3 separate regions of the Homo sapiens genome follow, and all the other regions are linked to region 3. The links are contacts of gene promoters, found by promoter capture Hi-C in blood cells and fetal thymus (Javierre and others, 2016). All regions are on one chromosome and are shown on one strand. The core of a region is centred on a gene start or on the middle of the fragment in contact, and the rest is flanking DNA. Distances in the headings are between cores, read along the strand shown.

Region 1 (2,700 bases), core at 120-2,619, 190 kb before region 3:
CAGCACCCCTGGGAGCAGTAACTATAAAGTGTGCTTCTGCTTCATGAAGGAAACCCTGAGGAACCTGCCCTGAGCACCCTCTGTCCACCCTGTGCCCTTGAGGGGATTTTCCTCGATTTCCCAATCTAGTGCTGTGCCTGAGTGTACTGTAAACTTGAGCCGTGCAATAGGACACATATCCACTAGCTAGTTCCAACTGAAATGAGCTGTAAGTGTAAAATACACACAGGATTATGAAGATTTAAAATTTCAAAATGTTGACTATCTCATTGGTAATATGGTATATTAACTAAGTATTTAAATATTCGTATTTGATTATTTGGGGCGAAACAAAATATAGTATACAAATTTATTTCATGTTTCTTTTTACTTTTTAAAATAAAAAGTAAAATTTAATTTTTTTTGAAAATTTGCAATTGTACATGCACTCGGCCTTTGTGCCTCACTGTATTCCTTTTGGACAGTGCTGGTATAAATTCAATGAACATGTTCAGAATGAAAGGGTAAGTCAACAACTCCACAGTCCTTCTTTCTTTCCCTTTGCAGACTACAGGGTTGATGTTCCTTTCTGATAGGTGACAGCAGCAAGTGGCACACATCCCTACCTGAGACCAGTGCACACAGGCTGAGGAGGAGGAGGAGGAGGGAGGCTGGCCGGGAGAAGTGCAGGGCAGCAGCTGATTCCATGAGCACCCAGAGCAGGCAGGGACAGGAGGCCTAGGGTTACAGAGGAGAATCAGCCTAGGAGTCTTGGCACCTCAGTGCTGGTCGGGCCCAACCTCTCCCGTCACTCAAGTAGGTCTCATCAGTGCCCCAACTTCAGGGAGTCCCCTGCATCCGAAGGCTCAGGTATGTCCCGAGAGAGGGATTCCTTAAACATTCCATGAAGTAAGCCATCAATGCCAAGATCAAGGGGGCCTTTTTCCGCCCTCCTCGGCTCACTTCTCTGGCCAGAATGCAGTTTCTTCAGTTGTCGCTGGATTCTACCACACCCTCCTCCCTTCACTTCCTCCTCCCCGCGACCCAGGCCGGGCAGCCTGAGGCAAAGACAGGCGAGGCCGCGCCTCCCCACCGGTGGGCTTTCCCTGTCCCAGGACCCCGTCTCGTGTCCACAGCAGACCCCGCTTCCCCCACCTACTGTGCCCACCCCGGAGCTGTAGCGCCTCCCCTCCGTTTCCTACCTTCTAGAATTAAACGTTGCTTTTTCTTTTCTCCGCTGGTTCTCGACGATTCTCCAGTCGTCCCTCTTCTCTCCAATCTGCCCAGGGGCACAGGCACTACTAGACACAAACCTTCCCAAAAGAGGAGAAAAAATTGTTCTTCCCCTTCTCCTAGGTCGCCATGTTTGGAGATGCAGGAAACGAAATCTGGTCTCCTGGGCTTCCACAGTCCCAAGAGTTCCCTAAGTATTTTAGAGCCCAGGATTGGCCGGGTGTGAGTGAACCAGCCAATGGTGTCGAACCTTATTTCTCAGCAGTTGCTGGGTAGAATACACCGAATCACAAATTTCAAGCAGCAAATAACCTTTTGAGATTATCGGGTCTTTTTATTTCCTTTTTCTTTGTTCGAAAGCAAGACTCTCTCTCTCTCTCTTTCTCTCTCAAGACTCTCTCTCTCTCTCTCGCTTTGAGATTCCTTGGGGAGATTCCCTGGGGTTTGTCACTGAGGTCGGTGGCTTTGCTGGTGTCCACAAGGAGAGGCCTCTCTATGTAGAGGGCAATTTTGCTGGGGAGGAAACATGAGCAGGAAAACGTAAGCCGCCCCCTTTCCAAAGCCAGAGGACTCCTGTTCAAGTTGCTGGCTTTGGAGGTTGGGCCTGGAGCGCAGGAGGGCTTGGGGGAAGCTGGCATGGCTGGAGCGGGAGGGGTAGCAAAGGAAAGGAGACAGCAGTTGCAGTGGCTGTTATGAAGGCCTTGCCATTCATTCCAAAGCTATCGGATAAGAGGTGCTGAGAATCCTGACTGAGGATCAAAAACCTTTTCCCTCAGGGAGGTGGCATTCTGGTGGTGGCAGAAGATGGAATTGAGCAAAACTTTCTAGTTGTCCTTCACCTTCTAGATAGTAGGTGGTCAGGTTGGGTCCAAGAGCCACACACAGACACACACACTAGCACACATACCATCCTCCCGTAAACATCATCCCTCTCCCAAAGGCTCCAATCTTGTAATTGTAAAGATATCTTCCAGAATAATCTTCCCGAGGCCCAGTTGTCAATATTCCCCTCAAGTGTCTAAATGCTTAGTCTGGAGGCCTCCAATTCCCTTCTGATTCAATTCAAAACTTTGCAGTTAATACGCTAGCAATGGCTCCACAGTGGCCTTGCATCACAACGTTGCACTCCCTGTGGCCAGTGCTCCTTTTCCCATGCCATGGCTTTCATTTCAATTGCTTGCTCCATCTCTGCCCCGTGAAATCCTGCCCAGCCTTCGTGCCTACTTCCTCCAAGAACAACTCTGAATGTTCCTGCCTGAAGTGTTCTCGGCCTCTTCTGACACCCAAATCTTTTGCTGTTCCCACGTCCTGTCTTGTATTATTGTTACTCAGGTATCCACTGTGTCTCTGCTGTGACAGGAGTACCTGCTTCTCAGGACAGACTTCTGCAGGATGTGATTCCTCTCACCTTACAGGGCCCAGCTCTAAGCTCTAAGCTCTGCTCTTAGCTGTTGTTCAATGCATGAGTGACATGCTCAGGGTAAGGTC
Region 2 (2,700 bases), core at 94-2,593, 150 kb after region 3:
TATGGAGTTTTCCTTTGCTGAGACCCTATGCTCTGGCCACACTAAACTCATTCAGCATCCCAGAAAGGCCTCAGCCTTTGTGAGCAAGCTCTTATCTCCAGGCCTCTCACAAAGACCTGTTCCAGTAGAAGCTCAGGGGAGCACACTGGACATTATTCCAACAACCCTTTCCCCACAGCTATGCAGCCAAATCTGCCAGCTCAGTTAATTAATTAAGCAATTCAGAGATGAGGGTCTGCCCAGGCTGGAGTGCAGTAGCTGCGACCTCAAGCTCCTGGGCTCTAAGTGATCCTCTTCAGTCTACCCAGAAGCTGGGACTGCAGGCATGTGCCACCACACCCAGCTAATTTTTTTTTTTTTCAGTAGGGACCAGGCCAACCTAGTCTTGAACTCCTGGCCTCCAGCCTTCCGAAGTGCTGTAATTACAGGCATGAATCACTGCGCCCAGCCAACCCGCCCAGTCTTGTTAGACATGGGGTCTGTAGTTTCTAGTAGGTTCTTGAGTCTAGGGTTCCTACCTCATGTTTTATAGTTAATTTAGGGGAGGGACTGTGTCTGTTTATCTGGGGATGTAGGGGTGGGCAGGGGGATAGAGGGGACTTCAATTAATGAAACCAGAAGCAAAACTCAGTTGAGGACACCGGTCATGAGAGTGGCCTGATTATGGCCAATCTTACATAATGTGTGAGATCTTGATATTACCCCATCCTTGAGAGTCCTCTATAAAGCTACAGGGACTTGGGAGCACCTTTAATTACAGACAACCCATGTTCCTGTGGATTATGATTTATTAGATTGCACATGCCTAAATAAAGACATCCTCTGCAGTCTTTTGACAATTCTATAAGCATCTTCTGACTCCGCAATTAGACAGCTAAGAGATCTGTGTTACTTCCCTCACATATATAAATAATTTTAAATAAAAATCATGGCGTGAATAATTTCTTTCCTCTACCGATTTGAAGCTATCCATTTGGAAGACCACTCTGAAGAGATGAAATAAGTCTTCTGCCAAAGATTACTTATTAATTTACAAGGAAAAGGGGAAGTTTTGTTCCTCTCCGTGAATTTGATTGAAAATCGAGGGCTTTCTCGAATAGTTTTGGCATCCAGGGTCATTTTTCATTAAAAAGAGAAAAGTCATGTCAAATATGAATTTCCGCAGATTATTCAGCACTAGACCCTGGGAGATTCTGTAAAGAGGGGTTTTGTTATACTCAACTTTTCCGGGTAAAACAAACACAAATACTCCTCCTCCAAGGGGCGGGGGCGGTGCCTAGGTGATGCACCAATCACAGCGCGCCCTACCCTATATAAGGCCCCGAGGCCGCCCGGGTGTTTCATGCTTTTCGCTGGTTATTACATCTTGCGTTTCTCTGTTGTTATGTCTGAAACCGTGCCTGCAGCTTCTGCCAGTGCTGGTGTAGCCGCTATGGAGAAACTTCCAACCAAGAAGCGAGGGAGGAAGCCGGCTGGCTTGATAAGTGCAAGTCGCAAAGTGCCGAACCTCTCTGTGTCCAAGTTGATCACCGAGGCCCTTTCAGTGTCACAGGAACGAGTAGGTATGTCTTTGGTTGCGCTCAAGAAGGCATTGGCCGCTGCTGGCTACGACGTAGAGAAGAATAACAGCCGCATCAAACTGTCCCTCAAGAGCTTAGTGAACAAGGGAATCCTGGTGCAAACCAGGGGTACTGGTGCTTCCGGTTCCTTTAAGCTTAGTAAGAAGGTGATTCCTAAATCTACCAGAAGCAAGGCTAAAAAGTCAGTTTCTGCCAAGACCAAGAAGCTGGTTTTATCCAGGGACTCCAAGTCACCAAAGACTGCTAAAACCAATAAGAGAGCCAAGAAGCCGAGAGCGACAACTCCTAAAACTGTTAGGAGCGGGAGAAAGGCTAAAGGAGCCAAGGGTAAGCAACAGCAGAAGAGCCCAGTGAAGGCAAGGGCTTCGAAGTCAAAATTGACCCAACATCATGAAGTTAATGTTAGAAAGGCCACATCTAAGAAGTAAAGAGCTTTCCGGGAGGCCAATTTGGAAAGAACCCAAAGGCTCTTTTAAGAGCCACCCACATTATTTTAAGATGGCGTAACACTGGAAACAAGTTTCTGTGACAGTTATCTATAGGTTTAAGTTGTGATGCAGCTGAGTTGAAAAGGCTTGAGATTGGAGAATTAATTCAGGCCAGGCTTCAAGACCATCCTGGGCAACATAGCCAGACTACCATCTATACCAGGGGTCCTCATTTCCCCGGCCACCGACCGGTAACCGGTCCCTGTCCATGGCACGTTATGAATTGAGCCGCACAGCTGAGGGGTGAGCGAACATTAACCAACTGAGCTCCACCGCCTGTCAGGTTAGCTGCAGCATTAGATAGATTCTCATAAGCTCAAACTGTATTGTGAATGGCACATGCAAGGGATCTAGGTTTCAGGCTCCTTGTGACAATCTAATGCCTGATGATCTGAGGTTGGAGCAGTTTTAGTCCGGAAATCATTGCTCCCAGCCCCTGCACCCCCTGGTCCGTGGTATAATTGTCTTACACAAAACGGTCTCTTGTGTCAAAAAGGTTGGAGACTACTGGTTTTACAAAAAAGTAAATTAGTCAAGCATGGTTGGCACGCTCCCTTAGTCCCTGCACCCAGGCGTTTAAGGATACAGTGAGCTATGATGGTGCTACCTCACTCCAGCCTGGGTGACAGCGA
Region 3 (2,700 bases), core at 176-2,675:
CCAACTACATAAAACCAGGGCCTTTGTTTTTCTTAAGCTGGAATTTCCAGGTAACTCAGTACTGATTTATACTTTTTTTTTTTGAGACGGAGTTTCGTTCTTGTTGCCCAGGCTGGAGTGCAATGGCACGATCTCGGCTCTCTGCAACCTCCGCCTCCCGGGTTCAAGTGATTCTCCTGCCTCAGCCTCCTGAGTAGCTGGGATTACAGGCATGTGCCACAATGTCCAGCTAATTTTTGTATCTTTAGTAGAGATGGGGTTTTGCCATGTTAGTCAGGCTTGTTTCCAACTCCTGACCTCAGGTGATCCACCCACCTTGGCCTCCCAAAGTGCTGGGATTACAGGAGTGAGCCACCGCGCCCTGCCTTCTTTTTTTTTTTTTTTTTTTTTTGAGACAGAGTCTCACTCTGTTGCCCAGGCTGGAGTGCAGTGGCAGGATCTCGGCTCACTGTAACCTCCGCCTCCCAGGTTCAAGCACTTCTCCCTGCCTCAGCCTCCCAAGTAGCTGGGAATACAGGTGCCTGCACGCCTGGCTAAGTTTTGTATTTTTTTTTTTAGTAGAGATGTGGTTTCGCCATGTTGGCCAGGTTGGTCTTGAACTCCTGACCTCAGGTGATCTCCCCACCTTGGCCTCCCAACGTGCTGGGATTACAGGCATGAGCCACTGAACCCGGCCTGATTCATACATTTTAATTTTTCAAACGTGTTGCTCCAGATACCCAAGGACATTCAGTTAAGACAGTGAATCAAGAGGCAGGGGCAGGAAAAGATAAGCAATGAGTGCTAACCCCATGGAAGACTGCTCGCCTTATTCAAGGATACCAGTAGTTAAGGAAAGAGTATTATTATATGATAATTTATTTAAAATAAAAAATAAGAGATCTGCAAAATTGCTATCATTTTACTTTTCACATGAAAGAAACCAATGTAATCTTTACAAGGCTTTATATGCTGTAACATTTTCTGAGATTTCATTATACTAGATATCTACGGATGAGCTCCAAAGTACAAAGAAAACTGCTCCTACTAGCAACAGAACTCCACATTAAAATTTCTATAATGGTTATAATGTGATGGCCGAATCCATAATAAAACAAAATTAAATTATGATGAAGATGATACATGTTCCCAGCTACTGATTTTGAGCCCTAGATAAACCTTGACAAAAAATTGAGAGATCACATTTCTTCTTAATCCTTCATATTGAGTGAGACTATTGTCCGATATGAGATCCAGGGATTTTATTTATGATTATAACTGTCAAAAATGGACTATCAATTACTTTCACTTTTTTGGTTAAGTGCAGTTAGAGGAAAAAAGACATATCTGGTGTCTTACAAAATTTACCCAGATTATTCTACGAGACTTTTGGGGAGCAATGTCAATATTATAGAGTCTCTGTTTTCTCCTTGAGCTTTTCTTTTCTTATTTTTCTTTTCTCTTTTCTTTTCCTTTTCTTTTTCTTTTTTTTTTCTTTGAGACAGTCTTGCTCTGTTATCCAGGCTGGACTGCAGTGGCATGATCCTAGCTCACTGAAGTCTCAAACTCCTTGCCTCAAGCAATCTTCCCACCTCTCTCTCCCAAAGTGTTGGATTACAGGCATGAGCCATCACCCCCGGCCGCCTTACTGATTTTATTTAATTTTTTTTTCTTTAAATATAGAGATGAGGTCTCGTTATATTACCCAGGCTGGTCTTGAACTCCTGGGCTCAAGTGATCCTCCTGCCTCAGCATCCCAAAGTGCTGCAATTATAGATGTGAGTCACCGCATCCAACCCTCCTTATGCTTTTCTAATGGAGGACCCAAGAGGCAACATATCCAATGAAACTACCTCATCCTTATGGTCACATCCACATTTGAAAGATCACTAGGCTGTGGACAGAAGTTCTACTGCTGATAGATGTGAATATAGCTTCCTCTCCTCTGGTTAACTCTTAAGAAGTCCACATTTTGCTTTGTTTCTCTCCATGAAATCTTATGTTTCTTTTACAGATGAAGTGTTTTGACCTGAAGATTCATCCAGCAACAAGTGAATGCATTTCCTTTTAGAAATTAAGAATCTAGACCCTTCTTTGGTGCAGAGCATACTAGTTAAGATAAATACAAGTTTATTTTCTGCGGATATGAGGTTCAAAAAGGGTATTCTAGATCAGCAGGTCCCTCTTTCTTCTAGCAGTGGTTCTGGAACCTAGATGCCCTCTGTCTTTGTGGCTTAGCCATCCTAAATGTGGCTTCTACATTTGCCCTGCAAGGGGAAAGAACATGGAAAAATCCTTCGTGGAAAGTTATTATGTCCCAGGCCTGGAAATGTCAATCTTTACTTGTGTTTATGTTCCATTGGCAGGAACTTAGCTAAAAGGCCACACCTAACTGGAAGAGAAGTTGAAAATAGAGGTTTCAACGTGGGCCCCAAAGAAGAAAAAGGTTAAATTAATGACCAGAATTAATAAAAGGCATATGAAATTATTAACGTGTACACTGCAGAGGGGGGTGGATAGAGTGATCACCCAATACTGCAATTGGACATAGATGTTTATTCTACTTCCTAGGGAAATGGGAGCTTGAGAAGTGTTTTTAGGGATATAATAAATGATTTGTAGGGGAATTCAATGGGCTTGAAGAACATGCAAGGGCCTGGGACAATGTCTGTTAGGGCTGCAGAGTAGACAGTGGTTTGTGACAAAATCTATCTAGGTTTG

What was found. Contacts are between HindIII fragments. The CHiCAGO score rates a contact against its expected background, and 5 or more counts as called.
Region 1: a contact is called between the fragment with the promoter of BTN2A1 here and a fragment that was not itself captured in region 3, in 3 of 17 cell types (total B cells, naive B cells and total CD8 T cells). The highest score is 5.3, in total B cells.
Region 2: the fragment with the promoter of H1-6 here is called in contact with a fragment that was not itself captured in region 3 in 1 of 17 cell types (monocytes); the score reaches 5.3 in monocytes.

The regions. Positions count from the first base shown.
Region 1 is chr6:26,456,624-26,459,323 of GRCh38, reverse strand. It overlaps BTN2A1 (butyrophilin subfamily 2 member A1), which reads right to left and starts at 1,369. Exons shown (of 8, transcript NM_007049.5): 1 at 1,182-1,369; 2 at 606-717. The coding sequence starts at 687. RefSeq lists enhancers at 1,179-1,338, 1,499-1,758. The HindIII fragment of the contact is 11,033 bases long and covers 1-2,700 here.
Region 2 is chr6:26,106,778-26,109,477 of GRCh38, reverse strand. It overlaps H1-6 (H1.6 linker histone, cluster member), which reads left to right and starts at 1,343. Exons shown (of 1, transcript NM_005323.4): 1 at 1,343-2,066. The coding sequence starts at 1,385. The coding sequence ends at 2,008. The HindIII fragment of the contact is 5,524 bases long and covers 1-1,716 here.
Region 3 is chr6:26,261,744-26,264,443 of GRCh38, reverse strand. It overlaps LOC105374986 (a long non-coding RNA gene), which reads right to left. Exons shown (of 3, transcript XR_926613.3): 3 at 2,516-2,700. Among named protein-coding and RNA genes, the nearest start is that of H3C8, 8.3 kb to the left of the region's middle. The HindIII fragment of the contact is 3,420 bases long and covers 1-2,700 here.